2 separate regions of the Homo sapiens genome follow, and region 2 is linked to region 1. The links are contacts of gene promoters, found by promoter capture Hi-C in blood cells and fetal thymus (Javierre and others, 2016). All regions are on one chromosome and are shown on one strand. Each heading gives the region's core, a stretch centred on a gene start or on the middle of the fragment in contact. The rest is flanking DNA. Distances are from core to core; before and after follow the strand shown. Region 1 holds the start of ONECUT3 (one cut homeobox 3). Region 2 holds the start of MEX3D (mex-3 RNA binding family member D).

Region 1 (6,535 bases), core at 1,166-3,665:
CCCCACCTAGGCCAGGGGCCCTCCTGCACCCTTACACCCCCACCTAGGAAATGGGGGCCTGGCCGGGCTGCCTGTCAGAGGGCAGGTGTGGACTTAGCTGTTGTCAGCTGGGAGGGAGGAGGGAGGAGGGTCCCCAGGGGGCCGGTGGCTGAGTATGAGACAGAGACAGAGGCGGAGAGACCGACAGGGAGAAGAGATAATGAGCAGGAACAAGAGCAAAACGGAGAGCAAGAGAAAAACATAGAGATACCAGTGTGTTCCGACCGAGAGAGGAGAGAAGTGGACATGAGAGACACAAAACCCCAAAGCCAGGCGGGCAGGGGCGCGCGCACCCGAGCCACGACCAAACTGCGCGGGGCGGGCGCCGGGTCGGGGTGTGAAGGCCTCCGGGCGGCGCGGGCCGAGGGTCCCCGGGGCCGCCCCTCCCCCGCCATTCTCGGGTGACCTTTGCCAGCGGCCGGAGGGGAGAGGGAGGGGGTATCGATCGCGGGGCCGAACTACAAAGAAGCGCGCGCTGGGGCAGGTGGGGGGATGAGCGCGGGCTCGGCCTCTGCTGCTGAGCTGCAGGCGCCCGCCGCAACGTCTCGGAGCTCTGTGGCCCGGGGCTGGGGGCTCAACAGCCCCTCTCCACCCACTCTGGAGGAGGGGAGTGGCACCTTAGCCGACAACAGCAGCTCGTTCGGGGACACAGCTCCCCCCAACAGGCGCGCGCTCACACACACACACGCACACACACAATGAGCTTCCCTGAGGGCTGCTTGGGGAGAGGCTCGGAGCCTCCCAGCAGTCTAACAAGGACTAGAGAACCCCTACGCGCTCCCGAAAGGGGCAGAAGCGGCGACCGGGGGGCGGGGAGGCGGCACAATCCCTTTCTCCCTTTTGGCAACGGTACAAACGGGCAGCGGCGCGGATCGCGGTCTAGCTTCCTGATAGGGGGTCCCGGGCTGCCGGGGCGCACGGGCGGGGCTTGGGGCGCTGGCCCCGGGCATCGGCCGCCGCCCCGCTAGGTGCTCGGGAGTCCAGAGCCGGCGCCCCCAGGGTCTGGCCCTGCGCGCCACGCTCCTACCTGCCAAGCGCAGCGCCGACATGCGCTGGAACTCTGGCTCCTGCAGCCACTTCCACATCCTGCGGAAGGTCTCGCGGCCGGATTTGAGCTTGCTCCACGGCTTGGGGTTGCGCAGCAGGTCGGAGAGCGTGCCCTGAGAGCGACACAGGATCCGCTGCGCGAAGATTGCCTGCGGGATGCTGTAGCGCTTCAGCTCCGCCGTGATGCGCTGCGCCACCTCCTTGGTGTTGATCTCCTCGGCCGCTGCGCCCGCGCTGGGGCCGCCGCCGCTCCCGCCGGGGCCGCCGCCTCCCCCGTGCGGCCCGTGCGCCCCGGCCGCCGCCAGCCCGCCCAGCGGCGCCAGCAGCCCCGCGGCGCTCCCGCTGCCCGCTCCGCCGCTGCCTGTGCCGCCGCCGCCTCCGGGCAGCCCGCGGGCCAGTGCGTCCTCCGCGCGTCCCAGCAGCGCGGCGTGCGGCTCGAAGGCGGCGGGCGGCAGCAGCTTGTCCCCAGCCAGGTGGCCTGGCGGGCCGTAGGCGGCCAGCGGCGGGGGTGGTGGCGGCGGCGGGGGCTGCGGGGCGCCGTGCAGCGCGGGCGGCAGCGCGTTGGGCAGCGGCGACAGCGGCGACCCCATGGCGGGCAGCTCCTTGCCGTAGGGTCCGTAGAGGTGGCCCACGGAGGCGAGCGCCGCCCGCTCGTCGCGCATGAGGGTGAAGCTGCCGCTCACGCTGGCCGCCAGACGCTGCGGCGGGGGTGGCGGGGGCGGCGCGGCCGCCGGGTGCGGGTGCGCGTGGGGATGGCCGCCGTGCGCCCCGGCCACGGCCGCGGCCGCCGCGTGCTGGTGGAACTTGTCGGCCACGGCCGCGAGCGGCGGCAGGTGCTGCAGGGGCGTGAGCGTCGTGTAGGTGCCGCCCAGGCCCGGCGCCTCGCAGGCCATGCCCATTGCCGGGTGCAGCGGGCCCGCCAGTTCCCCGCGGAAGTCCGCGCCGCCGCCCGCGCTGCCCGCGCCGCCCGCGCCCCCGGCGCCCCCACCGCCGCCGCCGCCGCCGCCGTCCAGCAGGCTCGCCATGCCGGCCACCAGGCCCGGGCGCCCGGGCGCCACCAGGCCGCGGTGCTGCGCCGCCGCCGAGCGCGCGTGGCCCGGGCTCAGCAGCTCGCCCGCCTGCGCGTGGGCCACGCTGTGCAGGCCCCCCAGGCTCTCCAGGCTCAGCTCCATGCTCGGCTGCCCTCCCGCCGCGCGCGCTCCTCAGCGCCGGCCCCTAGTGCTCAAGGCCGCTGCATGACTCCCGCCCGCTCCCCGGTGGCTGCGCGCGAGGCTGCCAGGCTGCGCGGCGCACGGCCCGGCCCGGCTGCGAGCGCGGCCACCAGGATGTGGCAGGGGAGCGGCCGCCGGCGCCCGGGCCCGGGTCTGACGTCAGCGCCCCCGCCCACCCGCTCCTGCCACCGCTGCCTCCCGCAGCCTCGCTCTCCGCCCGCCCCGGCCCCACTCGAGCACCAAGCAGGCCGAAGTCGGCCAGACTTGGGGCTTCGGCGTCCCTGGCCACTGCGCCCGCCCGCGCCCGCTGGGGCAGGCCGTACCCGGGGGACAGCGGGCGGGGGTCCGAGGACAGACTCTGCCCAGGTGGGGCTGGGGGCCTCGACCCAGAGTCTCCGATTTCGCGTCTCTGTGTGATTCTCTCCAGAGTCCCAGATGTGGCTTTCTGCCTGGCACCCCCAAGTCCATCTCCAGGGAGTTTCTGGGAGTGTGGCTGGACGGTCGCCTGTAATGTACGTGTCCCCCCCCCCCCCCGTTCCCTACAGACCCCCAGGAGCTAGATCCCCACTGCAAGCTCAGCTTCCCCCGACTCCCACTCACACCTACGGAGTCACAGCCCCCTTCCCACAACCTCTTTGTGGAGGAAGTGGGGGAAAAGGGAGGTCCTAAGGCTAGGTCAGGGCCTCCGTGCGCCCCAGGGGTCAGCCTCTGCCCATGTGTGGGCACCTGGGCCTCCGTTTCCCCAACTGTACAATGGGCTGCCCGGCCTCGGGGTTGCCAAAGGCCCCTTCTAATTGCAGGGCCTTTTTACAGTGCGGCCGCTGGAGGCACTGGAGCCTGGGGGTGACCACTAAGAGCCCCTGTCACCCTCCAGCCCACGGAGGCTGAGGCTGGATCCCCTGTCTTCTGAGACGTCGCTGGTGCAAACTCCTCTTTGTCCCTGGGGCTTCTCTTCAATGTGGGGGGAGGCAGGGGTCTCCTTTTTCTCAGCACCTGGAGACAGGTGAGCCCCAGGGGCCCCTGGGAACTGGGATAGATGGGGGAAGGGCTCCTATAATCAGAGAGACCCCCAGGGGACTAGATCCCGCCAGTGGGGTAAGGTCAGGGCTGCGGATCTGGAGGGGCCAGACCAGAATCTAGAGGATGCTCTGTCTTGTAGGCCAGAGGCTACGGTGCAGAGTCCAAAACCAGCCTCAGCCCCTTCCTGCTTCCCCGTTGCCTCTGCCCCCCCCACCCCCGGGGTAACGCTTGTGCACTTTCTAGAAGAGGAAGGGGATGGGTCAGGCAGTCGGTTCGCGGGAGCCCCCAGTTACCCCCATCTCAGAGGGTTGCATCAGGGCTCAAAGCTGAAGGAAGAGGGGAGGACACAGTCAGGCTGTCACTTCCCCTTTGGTGCAAACCTTCTGGGCAAACCCCGGCCCCAGCTTTGCACCTGCATCCAGATTTCCTGGCCCCTGTAGACGTGGCTACACATTGGAGATGCGATTTTCTGAACCAAGACTAGGTTGGCTCTGGAATAGGGCCCTTTCTGTGCCTCAGTTTCCCCTTCTCTGGTGTGGGAGGGGGTGCCCTCCAGCCTGCCCAGCTGGGAGCCGGAGGTGAGTCTATGCTGACCACAACAGCCAGAGAGAGAGGGGGCCTGAATGATCTGGGCCCCCAGCCTGAGGTGGCCTGATCCAAGTCCTGGGGAGGGATAGGGCTGAAGGGGACCCCTGTTAGTACTCGCTGCTTAGGGCTCGGCATTTAGTAAGTGCCTGTTATTTACCAGGCATACTCTCCTCTCTCAGCCCCAGAGAGGGGGAAGTCAAATCACAATTTTTCCGGGTGTCTCTGGCCCAAGGTGGGGGGGTGGTGGCCCTAGAGTTCCCCCCTTCATTCCTACATCTGCCCAAGTGCTAACTCCTGCCCCCTGAAGTGTCGGTCCCTAAACTTTCCAGTTCCAGGGTTCAGGTATAATTTCTGGAGTTTACATAATTACACCCATCTTCCAGGTGGGAAGAGAGGGGCAGGTCCGAACAGTCGCGTACCCCACTCCCCGTGCAGATGCTGAATCTCGGCGGGGGGGATGTGGCTGCACAGAGCCCCAGCCTGCGCTCCTCATTCTCACCCTCCAACAATCACAGATAATTAAAAATAATCGTGAGATCTAAAAATCAATCAGCCGCCATAAAACGCTAGCATCCCAGGCTCAAGAAGCGCAGACCAGGTGGGGGCTGGGGGTCTCTACGGGTGGGAGGATAACAAGGTGGAAGGAAGTTCCCCCAAATGCCAATGTGGGGGAGCTCCTAGGGAGCTGGGATTTTGCAGGCTTCCTTTTAAATATATTTTTTACAGCTTGATGATCGTGTTCATTTTAATAGCAAGCGTGTGTGGCTTTTCTAGCAGGGAAAGCATCCATTTTGAAAGAGAAGACGAGGGTCAGGGACTCCGAGAGGAAGAGGGCCTCTCCCCTCTGCTGCCTCAGGACACGCTAAGGTGGCCACAGACCCCTTCCAAAGCTCCCTAGACTTGGAAGGGGCAGCCCAGCCTGGTGGACCTAACCCTATCCAGGTCTGCGAAGCCCCTCACCCCTCCCTTCGGCTGATGGACACTTGGACTCCCCCAGGGATGGGGATCTCACTCCTTGTAGAGGCTGTGGTCCCGTTGAGAGATTGAACAGAATTTTGCTGGCCCCAAGAGAGGGACTGTGGCCCCCTGGAGCCCCCAGCTTGCTTCTCCCCACCAGCAGCAGCCTTTTAGTAATTAGTAAAATAGAATTGAGCCGGCCACCGGGTAGGCTGGCTGCCCAGGCCCAGATCGATCCTGGGTCATTAGGCAAATTGTGGGCAGGGGGAGGGGTGGGCTGGATCGGGACAAGAAGTCCCCCTTCCCCACCCCACAGGGACCTCAGCCACCTCGAGGAAGCTCTCTGGCCTCAGTATCCCCTCCAGGAAGATGAAAGTTTGACTCCCAGAGCCCGAGTCTGTGTCTGGGAGTTGGGGAGGGGGACCTCAGCAGGTGCTGGGCTGCCCCAGACCAACGCTCACCCTCTCTGTGCCTGGCCTGCGTCTGGGAGGAGTCAAAAAGGGCAGCCTCTGGTCCTGCCAACCTCAGGGCTTGGAGAGTCCCGCGGGTGGAGGGGAGGACTGGGGGCCTCCACCCATGCCCCAGGGGTGCGCACTCTCCACGGCTTCAAACTCCCTAAACGGACCCCCTAAGCTTGAACCCCCTCTTTAATCCTCCACACCTCCCCCATTTTTGGACACACCACCTTCCCTGTTGTTATTGACTCTCCCATTGCAGCTAAAAATATCAAAGGCAGAGTCAGATACCTCAAGTTTTCCTTTCCTGGGGCTCCCCCAGAACCCTGCACAGTGCGCCCCCAACTGACTTTCTGATTCGATTTGTCTCCCACCGAAATGAAAGTGTCCGGGCTCTGCGCACCCCTCCCTGCTTTTATTAAAGCGAGGTTTTACTAAACGATGGCAATGAATGCGCGCCCCACCCAAGCCCAGCCGCAGCCCTAGATCCGCTCTGCTCCCACTCCCGGCCCCCGAAACCTGCGGGCGCCCCAAATCCCGGCCGCCGGTGCCTAGTGTGTGGCAGGAGTTCTCCCTCTGGACTCCAGCCGCCTTCGTTCGGGCGGGGTCTGGGGATTTTATTTAGATTTGGGGGGAGACTCTGGGCTTTTACGGCCTGGCGGGGGTCCCGGCGAGGCTGAGCGCGCGGCTCCCGAAGGTTCCACGTTGGCCGTGGGGACGTCCTGACCTCCCCACCCCGGGTGTCGCGACTTTGGGGTTTCGCCCCTGGCGGGCCCGACGTCCCGGATTTCCTGCCCGCAGTTGCGGGGCGCCCGGGCAGCTCTGGCCCGCGGGTGGATGCTCCCGCGGGCTCTTAGGCGACAGCTGTGCCCGATCGATCCCCGCGCCCGCCCGGGCTCCGTTGCCCCCGCCGCGGCGAGCGGCTCCATCGAATCCTCATCGCTCTCGGGCCGCGCCGCCCGCCTCGCGCTCGGCAAACACCGCGCTTGTTTGCGCCGGGGCACCGAGGCTGGGCGGCCGCGGCTGGCCGGGGAGCGGAGGGGTTGGTCCCTGGGGCCCCGCGTCCTCGTCCCCTCCCTCAGCAGCTTGGCCTCCGTCGTCCCAGAGTTCTGGGACACAATTAGAGGAGGGAATTCTATGCCCTCTTCTCGGGGCTCTGTCTGGCAGGCGCGGGAGACGGCCGGGCGCGGGACTTCCGCCGCATCGCCCTGGCCGCGC
Region 2 (7,272 bases), core at 2,950-5,449, 190 kb after region 1:
AGGCGGAGTTTACAGTGAGCCAAGATGGCGCCATTGCACTCCATCCTGAGTGACAGAGCAAGACTCCGTTCTCAAAAACACAAAACAAACAAAAAAAAACTGTATCCTAAGCAAGACAATGGATCCCCCAGGCCCACCCCTGGGCTTCATCAGCGATGATCACGGCTCCTCTTGTCTCCCATAACCCCCACCCTGCCCGGTCAAAATGCCTCCCTTCCTATGTGATTTTCTTCCAACATTCTCCCATGAAAAAATGTCAGACGCGGCCGGGCGTGGTGGCTCATGGCTGTAATCCCAGCACTTTGGGAGGCCAAGGCGGGCGGATCACCTGAGGTCACGAGTTCAAGACCAGCCTGACCGTCATGGTGAAACCCCGTCTCTACTAAAAATACAAAAATTAGCTGGACTTGTTGGCGGATGCCTGTAGTTCCAGCTACTCAGGAGGCTGAGGCAGGAGAATCGCTTTAACCCAGGAGGCGGAGCTTGCAGTGAGCTGGGATTGTGCCACTGCACTGCAGCCTGGGCAACAGAGCTAGACTCCGTCTCAAAAAAAAAAGAAAAGAAAAGAAAAGAAAAAGTAAAAAACATCAGATGCAGAGTGGGCCTGAGAGAATTTCACATTTCACGGTGACCACAATAGTGCCACCACCTACACCAGCGCTTCCCACCTGAGGTGACTCTGGGCCCAGGGGCCACGTTTGTGGGCATCTGGGCTGTCACAACCAAGGAGGTATATTATGGGTTGAATCATGTCCGCACAAAGATGTCTGTGTCCTCAACCCCACAACTTCTGAATGGGACCTTGTTTGGAAAGAGGGTCTCTGCAGACAAGTTAAGCCAAAGTTGTACGGGAGGGGGTGGACTCTCATCCCGTGACTCCTGTTCCCATGAGAAGAGGGAAACCAGGACACATACAGGGAGACATGGGTGTGTGAAGACAGAGGCCGAGGTCAGAGCGATGCGGCCACAATGAGCGATGAGGCCACAATGAGCGATGAGGCCACAATGAGCGATGAGGCCCAGAGCCCCCAGAAGATGGAAGAGGCAGAAAGGACGCTCCCCAGAGCCTTTGAAGGGGGCGCGGCCCTGCGCACACCTTGAGTTTTGACTCTGAGGCTCCAAAACTGGGAAAGAATTAAATATTCATTGCTTCATTCATTCATAAATTCATTTGTTTATTAGACACAGGGTTTTTTCTTTGTTTGTTTGTTTGTTTTTGAGACAGAGTCTTGCTCTGTTGCCCAGGCTGGAGTGCAGTGGTGTGATCTCAACTTGCTGCAACCTCCACCTCCCGGGTTCAAGCGATTCTCCTGCCTCAGCCTCCCAAGCAGCTGGCACTACAGGCTCACGCCACCACACCCGGCTCATTTCATATTTTTAGTAGAGACAGGGTTTCACCGTGTTGGCCAGGTTGATATAGAACTCCTAACCTAAGGTGATCTACCTGCCTTGGACTTCCAAAGTGCTGGGAAGACAGGCGTGAGCCACCGCGCCCGGCGCCCGGCTGACAATGCCATTAATAATTGCAAGTGGCTGGGCATAGTGTTACCCACCTGTAGTCCCAGCAGTTTGGGAGGCTGAGGCAGGAGGATTGCTTGAGGTTAGGAGTTCAAGACTAGCCCGGGCAACAAAAAGGACCCTGTCTCTACAAATACAAAAAGTAGCCCGGTGTGGTGGTGCACACCTGTGGTCCCAGCTACTCAGGAGGCTGAGGCGGGAGGATTGCTTGAGCTCGGGAGTTCTGAGCTGTAGTGAGCTATGCTGATCCAGCGTCTACATTAATATGATGACCTCCCTGGACTGGGAGGACCACCAGGTTGCCTAAGGAGGGCTGAACCTACCCAAGTCAGAGACGGAGCTGGTCAAAGCTCTCATGCTGATCTGTCCTGGGGTCACACCTGTGAATAGCCACTGCACCCCAGCCTGGGCAACAGAGCAAGACTCTGTCCGAAAAAGAAAGAAAAGGAAAGGAGAGGAGAGGGGAGGGGAGCAGAGAAGGAAGGGAGAATCCTGGTTGATACGGTGAAACCCTGTCTCTACAAAAAATACAAAAAATTAGCTGGGTGTGGCGTCAGGCACCTGTAGTCCCAGCCACTCGGGAGGCTGAGACAGGAGAATGGCGTGAACCCAGAGGCGGAGCTTGCAGTGAGCCAAGACTGCACCACTGCACTCCAACCTGGGTGACAGAGCGAGACTCCGTCTAAAAAAAAAAAAAGAAAGAAAGAAGGAAGGAAGGAAGGAAGGGAGAGAAAAGAAGAAATGAAGAACGAAATAAAGGATGAAAGAAAAGGAAGGAAGCAAGGAAGGAAGGAGAAGAAAGAAAAGAAAGAAGGAAAGAAAGACAGAAAAAAGAAAAGGAAGAGAAAGAAAAAAAGGAAAGAAAGAAAAGGAAAAGAAAAAAGAGAAAGAAAGGAAAGAGAAAGAAAGAAAAAGAAAAGAAAGAAAGGAAGAAAGAAAGAAAAAAAGGAAAGAAAGAGAAAAAAAGAAAGAGAGAAAGAAAGAGAGATAGAAAAACAATTCCAAGCATGGGCGTGCACGAAAGAGAAGTCCAGGACCCCAGGAGGGGAAGTGGGGCTGGATGCAGCCTGGGGTCAGGAGAGAGATTTTGGGTGGGGAAGGGCTCCAGGCAGGGGGATCCTGACCCTGCCTGCCTGGAAGAAGTGGGCAGAGAAGCCACCAAAAGTGAAGGGCCCAGCAGTGGGTGGCTGTGGCTGAGGGACTAGAAGAGTGGCTGAGGGGGACCCAGGGTGTGTGAGGCGGGGGGAGGGGACAGAGGAGAAGCCTTGCTAGGCAAAGGGGCAGGCTGCCCCACTCCTGCCCAGAGAGCCCTGCCTTCGGTCCAAGTTTGCACAGCCAGCCAGGGACAGGTCTGGTAGAAGAGGGGGGCAGGTAGACCCAGCCAGACAGGTTTATCACAAAAAACCCCACAGGTGCAAGGAAGGCCCCGAAGGACAGCTGGAGGAAGAGCCGCTGGGAAAGCGGCTATTTTTTTTTTTTTTTTTTTTTTTTGAGAGGAGTCTTGCTCTGTCAACCAGGCTGGAGTGCAGTGGTGCAATCTCGACTCACTGCAACCACCACCTCCAGGGTTCAAGCAATTATCCTGCCTCAGCTTCCTGAGTAGCTGGGATTACAGGTGCGCGCCACCACGCCTGGCTAATTTTTGTATTTTTAGTAGAGTCGGGGGTTTCACCATGTTGGCCAGGCTGGTCTCTAACTCCTGACCTCGTGATCCACCCGCCTCGGCCTCCCAAACTGCTGGGATGACAGGCATGAGCCACCGCGCCCGGCAAGGGTGGCTTTAGAGGTGGACAACGCCCGTTGCGGGGAAAGGCACCCCAGAAGAGGGTGGGGCTCCACATGGAGGGTTCTGGCTGGTGTGAGCCTGCCCTCGCCATGGAAGCACCACTGTGGTAGAGAGGTCTCTGGCTGGGGGCACAGAGACCGGGTCTGTGGCCTTGGGTGGGGCGGAGGAGGTGGCGTGGAGGAGGTGGCCTGATCCCAAAGCCGGGAGCCAGCCAGAGGGGAGCTAGGAGAGACTAGGGGAGAGGGACCTCAGGCCCTGGGGTGTGCATGATTGTGGAGCTGTCCCTGGCACAGAGGCTGGGGGTGGGGCAGGGGCCTGACCCTAAAGCCCACCTGATAGCAAGGGGTACTTGGGGACTGGGACCCCAGGCCCTGGGGGGTGCACCGTGGGGCGGGGGTTGGACCCTGGCACAGAGGCGGTGGGCGGGCAGGAGCCTGACTTCGAAGTCCAGTGGGATCGCGAGGGGGACTTGGAGAGGACCCCACGCCTTTATGCAGGGAGGTGGGGGTCCCTGGCACAAGGAAGCGGGCGTGGAGCAAGAGACCTCGCTTGGGGGCGACCCGGATCTCTAGGGGAAATTGGGGAGCGGGACCTCGGGCCCTGGGGCGCGCGAGGCAGGGACTCTCAGGCTTGGGGAGGGAGCGCTGTCCAGGCAGGGGCTGAGCCGCACACACCTGCAGCAGCGCCCGCACGTGCGGATGCGCCCGGGTTCCCGCCCGAGCGCCGGGCGGAGGCGGGGCCTGGACCACGTGCCCGGCGCCGGCCCCGCCCCGGCCCCGCCCCGCGCGCCTGCGCCCTGGGGGCCGCCCATTGTTGGGCCGCGGCGTGACGTCGCGGGGGCGGGGCCGGGGCGGGGCCGCGGGAGGCGGCGGGAGGGAAGGAGCGTCCCGCGCCGCCGCCGCCGCCTCGGCCGCCGAGGAGCCGCCGCCGCCGTCGCCGCCGCCGCCGAGCCGCAGCCAGAGTCGCTGCCGCCGCCCGGCCCGGCCCGGCCCGGCCCCGAGCAGCCCCGCGCCGCCGCCGCCCCGCCCGCCCGGCCCCCCGTGCCCGCCCCCGCCGCTGGATGCAGGCGGCCGGCGGCCCAGCTCGCAGAGGCGGAGGGCGGCGCGGGCGGCGGCGGCGGCGCGGGCGGCAGGAGCGCGGGCCCCAGCGCTAGCTCCCGCCATGCCCAGCTCGCTCGGCCAGCCCGACGGCGGCGGGGGCGGGGGCGGCGGCGGCGGCGGCGTGGGGGCGGCGGGGGAGGACCCCGGACCCGGACCTGCGCCCCCGCCCGAGGGCGCCCAGGAGGCCGCGCCCGCGCCCCGGCCGCCGCCCGAACCCGACGACGCGGCCGCCGCGCTCCGCCTGGCGCTGGACCAGCTGTCGGCGCTCGGGCTGGGGGGCGCTGGCGACACGGACGAGGAGGGGGCGGCCGGGGACGGCGCAGCGGCGGCGGGGGGCGCGGACGGCGGGGCGGCTCCGGAGCCTGTGCCCCCCGACGGACCTGAGGCCGGCGCGCCCCCGACCCTGGCCCCCGCCGTGGCCCCCGGGTCGCTGCCGCTGCTGGACCCCAACGCGAGTCCCCCGCCGCCGCCGCCGCCCCGGCCGTCGCCCCCCGACGTGTTCGCGGGCTTCGCGCCCCACCCCGCGGCCCTGGGGCCCCCGACGCTGCTGGCCGACCAGATGAGCGTGATCGGCAGCCGCAAGAAAAGCGTCAACATGACCGAGTGCGTCCCGGTGCCCAGCTCCGAGCACGTCGCCGAGATCGTGGGTCGCCAGGGTGAGTGGCCCTCGTCGGGGGTTGCTGTCCTGGGGGTCCCCGCACCGTCCGCCCCGGGGAAGGGGGTCGCCCGAGCCCAGCCCAGCCCGCGCCGGACGCCCCGCACCGGACACGCCCCGCGTGGGCTCCGGCCTCGGCCGCTGCCTTTGCGCCTTTGTCCTGCAGCCGCCGCGGGAGAAAGTTGGGCGCAGCCCGCGCTCCTCCCCTGCGCGCTCCGGCCCCGCCGCCGCCTTTGTCTGGGCCGCCTCCAGCCCGGAAAGGCTCCGGGGAGCCGCGCCGCAGCCCAGGCCCTCGGCCGCCCGCAGGGGCACCCCAGAGAGGGGCTCGAGGGCCCGGGGCTCCGGCCGGGCGGGGGGCGCCCCACACCCAGCACAGGCGGCGGGGCGGGGCAAGCGCAGGTTTAGGGGTGGCTTAGGGGGGCCGCCTGCAGGACCGGGAGAGAAGGCTGACAGTACAAAGAGCGCACGTCTCAGTCTCCAGCCTGGGGCCCTGACTGGGGTGGGGACGGGACCGGGCAGGAGAGGGTCCCTGCTCCACTCTCTGGCCCCGAGTCAGGGATTTCGGGGCCTGGGGAAGGACCGGCTGTCAAAGCCACTTCTGGGGTGCAGCCTGCTGGGCAGGCCGGCGGGCGGCAGGCCCCGGGTGTGGGGTCCAGCGGTGGCATCGTCGGAGCTTCCCTCTGGCCGCCCCATTGTTCTCTTTGTTAGAGAGCGAGGCTGAGATTTGCAGGGTGACATCAGGCCGGCCGCTGCTCATTGGCCCCCGAGCTGCGGGGCGGGCGGGCGGGTGGTGGGCAGTGCCTGGCCCAGCTCACACCCACCACCCCGTTAGCCACCCGCCCGCCTGCCTCCCTCAACTTTCTCCTGCCTTCCCGCCACCCCTCCCCGCTCCTGGGTCCCCGCTGACCGCCAGTGATCAGCCAGGTTCTAGAACTTGGGGTGGGGCCTTGGCGGGGCTGGTGGTGGGGCCGCAGGACACTTGGGCTGGGGGTCCCTGCCTCCCCGGGGCCCTCGGGAATCCAGGCCAGAGAAAGGTGTGGGGGGCTGGGATTGCAAGGTCATCTATGGCCCTGGCCTCAGGCGGGGGACCACCAGGGCGCCCTCCCCTCCGCCCTTTCCCTCGGTCCAGGTGGGTGGGGCACCACAGCCTCCTGTCTTTTGGTCGTTCATTTGTCCAGCTCATGTGGGGACCCACGGAGGGTCAGGCATGGTGCTGGCCCCAGGAAGCATGCTCTGGAGTGGTGGGTGGGGAGGGACTGGGTTCTGTCTCAGTCCTGCTGGCTGCCCTTGGTGGGACCCCCTGGCAGGAGGGCGCCCTACCATCCTGTTACTGCCTCCCCATTGAGGCCTTCCACCCGGCCTCCATGTCCCATACCCAGGGCCTAGAACGGGACAGCTGCCCTGTGCGGAGTGTCTGGGAGCCTGTGGAGACAGGCGTCCAAGCCGAGGCCTGGGGACCAAGTGACCAAAGGCACGAGCCTGAGCCTCCAGGTGGTGGAGGCTGTGGCTGTGTTCTTTGTGAACGCGCTTGTCCTGGCACCCAAGGGCCTTTGAGCGAGGCTATGGCCACATGGGGAGCTGGCAGGAATCAGCGTCAGGCTGAGAGCTTCTAGACCTGTGGCCTCAGGGTGGGAATTCTCTAGGGGCAGGTCCATGGGAAATGGAGTCTGTGGGCACCAGGCTCAGCCCCCACCTCTGGCCTGTGCGTTCTGCACCCACTTACTGGGCTCTTGCTGGTGGCCGTCAGCAAGGCAGGCCCTGGGGTACAGTGGGGGTCGGGGGTAGAGTGGGCCCTGATTGCTTGTCCTGCAGGCCGCCGTGGCCCTGCGCAGATGACGGCCCCTCTCTGTGATGTGCGGACGTCTCACCTCCATTAGGGTAGAGGATTCTGGGGCAAGATGCTGGTTTTATTTATTTATTTATGAGACGGAGTTTCGCTCTGTCGCCCAGGCTGGAGTGCAGTGACGTGATCTGGGCTCACTGCAAACTCCGCCTTCTGGTTTCAAGCAGTTCTCCTGCCTCAGCCTCCTGAGTAGCTGGGATTACAAGTGTGAGCCACCACGCTCAGCTGATTTTTGTATTTTTAGTAGAGACGGGGTTTCACCATGTTGTCCAGGCTGGTCTCGAACTCCCGACCTCAAGTGATCCGCCCACCTCCACCTCCCAAAGTGCTGAGATTACAGGCGTGAGCCACTGCGCACGGCCAGTTTTAT

The links. The method cuts DNA at HindIII sites, captures the fragments that hold promoters and counts their contacts. A CHiCAGO score of 5 or more calls a contact.
Region 2: a contact is called between the fragment with the promoter of MEX3D here and the fragment with the promoter of ONECUT3 in region 1, in 2 of 17 cell types (total B cells and erythroblasts). The highest score is 7.6, in total B cells.

The regions. Positions count from the first base shown.
Region 1 is chr19:1,749,386-1,755,920 of GRCh38, reverse strand. ONECUT3 (one cut homeobox 3) reads right to left here and starts at 2,415. Exons shown (of 2, transcript NM_001080488.2): 1 at 1,067-2,415. The coding sequence starts at 2,258. The HindIII fragment of the contact is 18,116 bases long and covers 1-5,497 here.
Region 2 is chr19:1,565,252-1,572,523 of GRCh38, reverse strand. It overlaps MEX3D (mex-3 RNA binding family member D), which reads left to right and starts at 4,199. Exons shown (of 2, transcript NM_203304.4): 1 at 4,199-5,060. The coding sequence starts at 4,466. It also overlaps the pseudogene RN7SL477P. RefSeq lists silencers at 3,920-3,969, 4,010-4,199. The HindIII fragment of the contact is 12,069 bases long and covers 1-7,272 here.